Regions from separate parts of the Homo sapiens genome. Here region 1 is linked to region 2. Evidence: promoter capture Hi-C in human tissues and cell types (Jung and others, 2019). All regions are on one chromosome and are shown on one strand. The core of a region is centred on a gene start or on the middle of the fragment in contact, and the rest is flanking DNA. Distances in the headings are between cores, read along the strand shown. Region 1 has its middle 8.0 kb from the start of MIR4515. Region 2 holds the start of BNC1 (basonuclin zinc finger protein 1).

What was found. Contacts are between HindIII fragments. The study calls those that stand out against the background at their distance.
Region 1: a fragment that was not itself captured here is called in contact with the fragment with the promoter of BNC1 in region 2 in 1 of the 25 tissues and cell types used here (stomach).

What each region holds. Positions count from the first base shown.
Region 1 is chr15:83,072,646-83,077,978 of GRCh38, forward strand. No RefSeq gene overlaps it. Among named protein-coding and RNA genes, the nearest start is that of MIR4515, 8.0 kb to the left of the region's middle. The HindIII fragment of the contact is 5,519 bases long and covers 1,174-5,333 here.
Region 2 is chr15:83,280,854-83,286,300 of GRCh38, forward strand. BNC1 (basonuclin zinc finger protein 1) reads right to left here and starts at 3,811. Exons shown (of 5, transcript NM_001717.4): 1 at 3,677-3,811. The coding sequence starts at 3,775. It overlaps BNC1-AS1 (BNC1 antisense RNA 1), which reads left to right and starts at 3,159. Exons shown (of 3, transcript XR_932542.3): 1 at 3,159-3,241. RefSeq lists enhancers at 3,202-3,702, 4,472-4,972. The HindIII fragment of the contact is 7,632 bases long and covers 1,654-5,447 here.

The DNA of each region.
Region 1 (5,333 bases), core at 2,683-5,182, 210 kb before region 2:
ACTATGATTGCACTTTGGGAGTCTGAGGGCAGGTGGATCACCTGAGGTAGGGAGTTTGAGACCAGCCTGGCCGGTATGGTAAAACCTTATCTCTACTAAAAATACAAAAAATTAGCTGGGCGTGGTAGTGGGTGCCTATAATCCCAGCTATTTGGGAGACTGAGGTGGGAGAATCGCTTGAACCTGGGAGGCGGAGGTCGCAGTAAGCCAAGATTGCACCACTGCACTCCAGCCTGGGCCTGACAGAGCGAGATCCCATCTCAAAAAAAAAAAAAATAAAAATAATAATAATAATAATAATAATAAATAAAATAACTATAATTACTGTATGAAAAAAATAGAAAAAAGATGAAGAATTTTACCAGAGAATTGGAATCTGTGCAGAAGGGTCAAATGGAGATCCTTGACCTGAAAAAGTACTATAACAAATTAATAACTAATTTGTGTTTAATAGAAAATTAGATATAGCAGAACAGAGAATTAATGTAACTGGAAGACAAGCCTGTAGAAAATGTTTAAATTGAAACACAGAGAGAAAAAAGCATAGAAAATACAGAAAACAGGCCAGGCACAGCAGCTCACACCTGTAATCCCAGCACTTTAGGAGCCCAAGACAGGCAGATTGCTTAAGGCCAGGAGTTTGAGACCAGCCTGGGCAACATGGCAAAGCTCCACCTTTACAAAAAATACAAAAATTAGCTGGGCATAGTGGTGTCCAACTGTAATCCCAGATACTCAGCTGGCTGATGCAGGAGAATCACTTGAACCCTGGAGGTGGAGGCTGCAGTGAGCCATGATCATGCCACTGCACTCCAGCCTGGGCAACAGAATGAGATCCTGTCTCAATAAAATAAATAAATAAATAGGAAACAACATATGTCTGTTAATTCTGTTAATCATGAGACAAAGTGAAAAGGACTAACATATGTATAATGGAGTCATAGAAGGATGATAGAGAATGAGGCAGAAGAGCATTTGAAAAAAATACTGGCTGGAAAATTTCCATACTGATGAAATATATCAAACTACAAGGAAATGTAAGCCTTTGCTACTCTTGCATTCTGCATATCTGCAGACTTAACACCACGTGGATGCCACCAAGGCTTATGGCTTGCATCCTCTGGATAGGCAGCCTGAGCAGCACCCAGGGCTGGAATGTAGGAAGCAGAGTCCAAAGGTGGCTGCAGGGCAGCAGCACCCCAGGCCTGGCCCCCAAAACATTCTGTCCTCCTAGACCCCTGGCCTGTGATGGGAGAGACAGACTTGAAGATTTCTGAAATGCCTTCAGGGACTTTTTCCATTGTCTTGACTATTAGCACCTGCCTCCCTTTTTTTTTTTTTTTTTTTTTTTTTTTTTTTTTTTTTTTTTTTTTTTTTTGTTAAAGACTGTCTCGCTCTGTTGCCAGGCTGGAGTGCAGTGGCATGGTCTTGGCTCACTGCAACCTCCACCTCCTGGGTTCAGGTTATTCTCTTGCCTCAGCCTACCAAGTAGCTGGGATTATAGGCATGTGCCACCATGCCCAGCTAATTTTTGTATTTTTAGTAGAGACGGGGTTTCACCATGTTGGCCAGGCTGGTCTTGAACTCCTGACCTTGTGATCTGCCCACCTTGGCCTCCCAAAGTGCTGAGATTACAGGCGTGAGCCACCACGCCTGGCCCGAGCACCTGCCTCCCTTTTATCTGTGATAATCTCTCTAACAAGTGGTGGCTCAGCTGTGCTCTTGGATTCCTCACCTGAAAATGTTCTTTCCTTCTGTACCACATGGCCAGGCTGAGAATTTTCCAAAGTTTTACTCTCTGCTTCCCTTTTAAGTTCCAATTTTAGATCATGCCTTGACTCCTATATCTGCTCATAATCTGTTAAAAGTAGCCACACCATGTCTTGGATGCTTTGCTGCTTAGAAATTTCTTCTACCAGATACCCTAGGTCATCACTCTGAAGTTCAGCCTTCCACAAAGTCCTAGTGCATGGACACAATGCAGCCACGTTATTTGCTATAGTTTAACAAGGGTGACCTTTGCTCCAGTTCCCAATAAGTGCCTCATTTCCAACTGAGACCTCATCAGCCTGGCCTTCATTGTTCATGTTTCTATCAGCATTTTGCCCACAACCACTTAACCAGTCTCAAAGTTTCAAACTTTCCCTTGTCTTCCTGTCTTCTTCTGAGCCCTCCAAACTCTTCCAACATCTTCCCATTACTCAGTTTTAAAACCACTTCCACATTTTCAGGTATCTTCCTAGTAACCCCCGACCCTTGGTACAAATTTTCTGTCCTAGTCCATTTGTGATGCTATAAAGGAGTACCTGATGCTACATAATTTATAAAGAAAAGAGGTTTATTTGGCTCACAGTTTTGCAGGCTGCTTCTACTCATGGTGGAAGGCAAAGGGGGCAGCTGGCATGTACAGATCACATGGTGAGAGAAGAAGCAAGAGAGAGGGGAGGAGGTGCCAGGCTCTTTCAATAATCAGTTCTAATGAGAACTAAGAGTGAGAATTCACTTACTCCCATGAGAATAGCACCAAGACATTTATGTCGGACCTGCCCTGTGATCCAAACACTTCCCATCAGGCCTCACCTCCAACACTGGGGATCACATTTCAACACGAGATTTGGTGGGGCCAAACAAACCACATCCAAACCACAGCAGATAACAGTGCAGGATTATTTGTGATAATAGAACATTGGAATAGGCTGAGTGCAGTGGTTCATGCTTGTAATTCCAGCACTTTGGAAGGCCGAGGTGGGCAGATCGCCTGAGGTCAGGTGTTTCTTTTCTGTCTGAGCTGTATCAGACATTCAGAGAACTGCTACAAATTTGTGCCCTATAGGCCAGGTGTGGTGGCTCACGCCTGTAATCCTAGCACTTTGGGAGGCCGAGGCGGGTGGATCATGAGGTCAGGAGATCAAGACCATCCTGGCTAACACGGTGAAACCCCGTCTCTACTAAAAATACAAAAAAAATTAGCCAGGCTTGGTGGCGGGTGCCTGTAGTCCCAGCTACTCGGGAGGCTGAGGCAGGAGAATGGCATGAACCCAGGAGGCGGAGCTTGCAGTGAGCAGAGATCGTGCCACTGCACTCCAGCCTGGGTGACAGAGCAAGACTCTGTCTCAAAAAAAAAAAAAAAAAAATATTGTGCCCTACAAACAAGGAATCTGATAAGTTCTATTTTGTGTGATTCCTGTCACACAAGGGTATGGTTATAATCAATAAATTATCAAGAATGTTCCTGAAAGGAGAAGACTTCTGTTTTCACCAAGTGTTAATGAGAATCAAATCTTTTGTTTACAACTTTATACTTTGAAGGATTTTCCATAGACTAGCTTCTGGTGCTATGTATTTTTATTTTTATTTTATATATTTTTGCAGAAAGAGTCTCGATCTGTCACCCAGGCTGGAGTGCAGTGGTGTAATCTCAGCTCACTGCAACCTCTGCCTCCCGGGTTCAAGCAATTCTTGTGCCTCAGCCTCCCGAATAGCTGGGACTACAGGCATGTGCCACCACACCTGGTTAATTTTTTGTATTTTTGTAGAGACAGGTTTCACCATGTTGCCCAGGCTGGTCTCAAACTCCTGAGCTCAGGCAGTCCGCCCTCCTCAGCCTCCTAAAGTGCTGGGATTAGAAAAACATAAAGTAAAAATAAAAATAAAACAAAATAAAATTAAAAAGAAACACAAACTGAGAAGAATGTTTGCATGATTTATGACAAAGGCATGATATCCTTAATATATAAAGAGCCTTTACAAATCAATAGGACAAATACTCTTTCTTTTTTAATGGACAAAAGACACAAACAGGGAACTCACAGAAGTATAACCTCTCTGAAGAGCAATTCATAAATGTGCCCACAGTTTAAAACCTACATATCTTTTGTTCCAGTAATTCTACCTATGGTATCCTAAAGAAATAAGAGCTGGGTGTAGAGTTAAAAGCAACAATAACAAAGATATCAAAGCATTATAATATTTTTTAAAATAGAAACAACTTAGATCAGTGGTTAACTAAATTATGGTATAATCAATCATATGATGGAATGATAAATATCTGTTGAAAAAATTCTATTGATGTGAAAAAATATTCTCAACCCATAATGCTAAGTAAAAACAGGCTACAGAACGAGACGTGTAGCATATCATTTTGTCTTTTGGGCTCAGAGTATACCATTTTGTTTTAAATGCCACATACACACACACATATATGTGTATAAAGAGACAAAGTAGGACCACTGTTATCAATTTGATATATTGCAGGATAATGGGAATGTGGGTGATTTCCCCCACTTTCTATTACTTTTCTTTTCTTTTTTTTTTTGTGAGATGGAGTCTCGCACTGTTGCACGGGCTGGAGCGCAATGGTGCAATCTCCGCTCACTGCAACCTCCGCCTCCTGGGTTCAAGCGATTCTCCTGCCTCAGCCTCCTGAGTAGCTGGGATTACAGGTGACTGCCACCACACCCGGCTAATTTTTTGTATTTTTAGTAGAGACGGGGTTTCACTATGTTGGCCAGGCTGGTCTCGAATTCCTGACTTTGTGATCTGCCCATCTCAGCCTCCAAATCTATTACCTTTCTTATTTTAGAGAAAGAGGTTTTTTTTTTCTTTTTTAAATAAAAACACTGTGAGATTTGACTATATACAAATTTTGAATTATCCAACTGGTCAACTATAGCAGGGACTCTAGGCATGTCTATGCCATAGAATGCAGTTTGTTTCCTTGACTTCCTCTGAAATGCTGTTAGGTTTCACCTTTCATTTGATTAAATGCAATTTAATTCAGTTCGATGCTCATTGCAAGGCAGTTAGAGGTGAGATTCCAAAGATGACTAGAAAATGTTACTCACCCTGAAGAAGCTTATAATTTAGTAGAAAAGGGGGAAGCCCACTGAAGCCTGCTCAGCTAGAAATAAAACTCTTGATGTTTGGTGGATTTGAAAAAATAAAAATGCAGCAGCAAAGGCAATTTGTCATACCCTAGACTAAATTCAGCTTACGTTGGAGCTCTTCTTTCTTTGCTTGTCATTGCTTTCTGGAATCCAGCCTAGGAAAGTAATATATGTCACCATGTGTGCTAGTTTATAATTAGAACAAATGTGAGGACTTATAAGAAAAAGACCTATTGGCAAAAAACATTGAGTAAAATTCTAGAAAAGGCAGTCAGGAGAAAGAAGAAGGAAGAAATCTATTTTGGAAAATAATTTAATGCCAAAGAAAGATAAGACATTTAAAAAGCATAAAAGGCAATTATTATGCCCTTAGGATTTTTATATTTCAGCGAGTGCATGAAAATATAGCTGCTATTGAATTACCCTCTATTTGAAAGGATGAGTATT
Region 2 (5,447 bases), core at 2,561-5,060:
GAGGCAACTATTTCCCTATGGACAGGGCTGTTTGGACCTGACCCTCACATTTTATTTCTCCATCTCTCTTTTGTTTCACATTAGTTGAATGAAATTATCATTTCCCCAAGGCAGAGTCCTCCTGTGATTTGTTAGGCTGGTTTATAATAATGAGTCCATGTGTAGACGGCAAGAGTGACAGTCTGTTTGCCGATAACTAACTATGTGAGGTTTGAGAAGGCCCAAAATTGGACCCTGGAGAAACAAGTCTGTTCTCTGTTTATACCCACCCTCTTCGGCTGAAATAGGCATGTGTCCGTGCAGAGAAATGGTGCCACAGTGGAAGCTTGGAATTTCCAGAATTAGGAAAAGGACTTCAAAGAATGACAAGATATGCAGAAATAAGGTTTTCAGGTGGAAACCAGTTTAAAAGGAAAAAGAAATGCTTTCCAGATGCTTCTTTTGAGCAGAATCCAGTTATCTTTAACATCTCTCAGAGAAGTCATCAAAAATAAAGAAACAAAAACTCTGCAGTAGAACACTTGGAATTACGTAATTAAAAGAAAAGTACCAACTCCCTAAAATCTTGATTTTAGATACTAAAAAGATGGGTGGCTCATCATTGAGATTTTACCTTAGCTAAGGTATTTTCAGTTCCTTCTAAAAAGGACAGTTTCTGACAAAAGTAACCCACTCTAAATGACATCTGTAGAGGAGAAAATTCACCCTGGGGTGAAGCACACTCCTGTAAGTAATTTACCCTGTGGAACCTTCAGGGCATCCCTTTTAATGGCCACATCAAAATTACTTCTAAAGCCACATACAGAAGCTAAAAGACACTTCTGCCCCCCACTCCATAAGCTGCAGTTTAATTTTACTGACAAATTGAACTTTTAAAATGTTTCCCTGTTTATACTTATCCCTAGGCATTCATAAATGACAAATGTGTGCTTAGGGACAACTACTTTGTTCCACAGGGAAACCTGTATGGCTTTTCTCTCTCATCTATCGGGTTGGATCGTCTTTCCAATCTGATGATCTTGAGGTACAGAAAGTGGGCATGGGCCTGGGATGCAGGCCTAACTGCTACATGGGGGAGATGCAATAAAACATAAAATAGCCCTCCAGTAAATCTCATGCTTCCAAGGCAATTACTTCATGTTAGTCAATATTTCTAATGAGAATTATAACCACAGCAAACAGATCACTGTAGGTATCAATGGCCAAAGAACTTTAACCACTTTCTGAAGGAGGAGAATGTCCCTAAATCCTTACTAGTCTGAAGGGACACTATAGGTACAGATGATATTCAAATTAAATTATGCAGATGCCTGAACATAATTACGAGTTCCCAAAGTGTGAGCATCATGTGTGCTAGGTGAAGATTTCACCACCTCTTCTCAGCATTTAACTACAACAGGAACACGTTCAACCAACAGTTGACTTGAAATAGTAATAGTTTCTTGGTGAAATTAGTTAGCAAACTTATTAGATGAGAAATCAAACGATGACTCGTATCTTATTCGTTTTAACCATCTGAAAGTATGCCAAAAAGAATAAAGTTATTTCTTAAAATTCATCATCACAAAAGGAGAAGCCATCTTTTCACACCTCTTTAAAGAGCAAATCAAATCCAGTACAATTTGTAACATCTGAAGTAATGTTCTTTTATATGATGTACAAAATTTTATTTTGACAAACTATTTTAACAAGGTTTTAATATGTATCAACGAATCTGGGAAGGGATCAATGAAAAGAGAGTCAGTGTATCCATCACTGAACAAAAGTTTCAATACATTAACACGTATTTGCAAACTCAGGGTCGAAGACTTAGAATCTTATCAAGAGATCCCATAAAATCGAATAGCAAATTAAATAAACAGCGAATGAAAAAAAATCTGCCAAATGCTGTTTTTCAATTCACTTACTGTCAAGCCAAAATCTTGTCGCTTTGATGAAAAGAATATATTTTTAAAAAAATTGTTGCTACATCTGCTCTGTGGTCCTATGCAGTAACACATGTTCTCTCTCCCTCACACACACACTCTCTCTCTCCCTGACAGGGATTCCCAGGACACCGGTGGGGCCTCTTTTAGGCCCCTTAAGTGTTAACAGCAAGAGGCCTGGCTGAGACCAGGCGTCTGGGCCGCTTTAAATGCCCTGGCCTTCAGAGGACTGAGGCGAGCACAGCCATAAAACCAGGGGACGTTACCGAACCCCCGAGCGTCTGATGCCCCCCGCCCCCCAACCACACACAACTTCACTCACACAATTAAGGCTGGGAGATGGCATTCCACTTAACTGTCAGACTCGGAGCGGTGGCAGCCCCGCAGCCACAAAGAGATGCCTTAAATGAGAAGAACATGTTTCTACACCGCATTTGTGAAAGTTTGGCTCGGAGCTACGCGCTGATTAATATCAGATCTCCTTCACTCGCCTCGCCACAATCTTGTCACATCTGGCTGACAAATCCCGAGGAACTCCGGCAAAGCCAGGCGGCGGCGGGGCTCCGGGTCTGGGCGGCGGCTCCGGAGGAGCAGCGGGAGACCCCGCAGCGGCCTCCTCCTTCTCCGCCCGCGGCCCCCAGCCTCGCCGCCGCCGCCCGGCTCCCAGCACGGAACCGACGGGGCGCTCCCGAGACGGGCGAGCCACGCGCTCGCAGGTCCCAAGGCCAGGCTGGGCGGGACTGTTAAGGGAGCTCGAAGTCGGGGGCCGGGGGCTTCCCGTCCCGGCGCTTCCCATGCAAACCCCTGAAGGAAGCGGCAGGCGCAGCCGCGGGCTCCGCAGCCCAGGCCCACTTCCTGTCACTCCAGGAAAACCTCGGAGCGGCGGACGCGGCTCGGCCCGGCTTCCAGCCCAGAGCCCAAGCGCCTTAGCCCCGTCCCAGCGCTTTCTGAAAGACGGGCCACCTCGCGCGGAGCCGCGACAAGGACTCCAGGGTCCGCAGTGAAGCTGGTCAAATCTGCCCCGCACACGGTCAACGCTCGGTCTGTGTCCCGGAAGCTTTCGGACCGGACCTGTCTAAATAGCGACTTTCAGTCGTGGGTTTTTTGTTCTTGTGGGTTTGTTTTGTTTTTTGTTGTTGTTGTTGCTCTACAAAAGATTTGTCCCGCAGTGGACGGGAGCCTCCTCACGGCCGCCCGCCCGTCTCCGCAGTTCTCCTCAGTGACCGGAGGCTGCCGCGCGCCCCGTTCTCCAGAGAAACAATCCCCGGAGAGAAAGACGGCCAGTGTGAAATATCAGCTGTTTCACAAATTCTGAGGTAAAAGAAAAAAAAAAAAAGAAGGGGTCGACCCCCACAGGTGGAAACAGCAAGTCCTAACGTCCTGGGCTGAAGCCTGGGGTGCGGGCGGCAGAGAGTGGCGTGTAGGGTACCCGCCGAGTGCCGCCGCCGATTTCCACAGGCTGGCCCGCCGGCACCTCCGACGCGCCCGCAGATCCGGCGCGGAGACCGTTTGCCAGCTCCGGGACGTCGGGCAGGGACGGGTCCCAGAGCCCCAACCCCCCCGCCGCCGCCTCCCGGCCGGAGACCACGGTCCCTCCCGCCGCGCCTCGGGGCCGCGCTGCCGCGCAGGTAGCCAGCTGGCCCTCGGGAGGTGGCCCTCGGGTACCCACGGGAGCCGGAGCCCAGCGGCGTCCCGGGCCGCCTGCTCCGCGCACAGAGAATCCCCGCGCCCGCGGAGGGCGCCGCGCTTACCTCGGCCATCCTGCGACCGCTGCGGTGCCGGGGCTGCCGGCGCGTCTCCCGGGCCCGGGCCGCCCCGCGTCCGCCCCGGCTCGGCGGGCGCCGCCGCATCCACGCTCCGGCCGTCGGGGCGCGACCCGGCGAAGTGGGCGGCTCCCCAAGCGCCCAGGCTGCGCAGCACGATGGCCGCCCCCGCCGCGCACCGCGTGTGCCCGCACGCCCGCCCCCTGCGCCCCGGGGACGCCTCTCCGCCCCTCCCCCTGCCCCTCCGCCCACCGCGCGGTCGCCCCACGCCGCGGGCGCTGCTTCGCCGCCCGGGAGGCCGCCTCCCGCCCCGGGACCGGATAACGCCCTAAATCAGCGCAGCTGAGGCGAGGCCGTGGCCCCCGCAGACCGCGGAGACCTCGCCGGCGGCCGGCGCGGAGGTGTCTGCCCCCGCCGGGCTTGAAGGCACTTGTTGGTAAAAGACACAGACGTGTCGGTGTTTGCCTCTCCCGGGGAAGGGCGAAACGCTCTGAAGTTCTCTGGCGCTCTTCTCAGGAGATGATTCGGCCTCCCCTCCTACCCTGGGGCGCCCTCGGGGTCTCACTGCCGCGGAGGAAGAAGGCAGCGCCGCCCTCGCCTGCAGAAACCTCATTCCCGAGAAAGTGCGGGACGAGCGTCTTGGGATGTGGAAGAAGGGGGTCGCCAGGAGGTTTTCTTAAGAACTCAAAACAAGCGCCCCCCACCGCACACGCACACACACACACACACACACACACACCCCTTCCCTTGGGTGGTCTGAAGAGTCAAAGTCCCAGCTTGACCACTTTCCCAGGACAAATGGCTTTGCTCTCTGGGCCTCAGTGGCTTCAGTTGTAAAATGGGATTAAGTTTTTCGCGTCTTATTGGATGCTAGGGACGGAATGAAATGAAGTGCCCTGGAGAAGCCAACTGGAGGTGGTGGCCCCGAGAGTAGACGCGGAGGGGCTGAGGCCGCAGGATCCTGGAGCCCAGGAGCTGACGGAGATCGCCCACAGCTGCTGCAGCAGCGCCCGGGTTTCTGCTGCCCCGGGGCAGGGCAAGCCTCTCCCAACCTCTTCAGCTCCTTAAAAGGAGTCTGTAAAGGCTAGACTGGGGGGGCGGCGGGGGTCCTGCTTCCTCTTCCCTCAGTTTCTTCCACCTGCCTTGCTGCTGGTGGGGATCCTTGAAAAGGAAACAAAGCTCTTCCTTCCCTCTCTGAGAGGAAAAGGAAGATGAAGTGAGTTGCCCTCAGCCACCCAGAGTGTGCCTGGTTGTGGCTATGGAAGGCACAGGCAGGTGGAAGGCTTCTGAAGGGAAGAGAAGGGAAAGGAGGGAACAAGGTGTACGAGGAAGAATGTGTGGGTGTCTGGGCGTCCTGGCGTCCTGGGGTCCAGCGGGTCCTTCTGCCTCTCCTGGGGTGGACACACAGGTGAGTGTCCTGGGCCTGATGTGTGGCGCCTTTCCTTGTAGGCTTGAAGTCTCCTGGCCTCACGTGATGGACCTTGCCGTGGGAGGAGATTCTTTTTTTTTTTTTTCACGTGGCTAACTTCTTGATGTAGCTTTGCTAGATTCATTCCGCATCTAAACTGCTTACCTCTCATTCCTCCGTGCCCCCGTATTGAGGCCTTTCTTCTAACACCTCCTTCTCTGTTTGTTGTAACACAGTGCATCTTTGAAGGACTTTCTGGAATGTCACCACATCTCAGAAACCTTCCCTGATCCACCAAGCCTCCACTCGATGTGCTTTTGCCCTGTTGTGACCCCCAGGCACTTTTTTCTG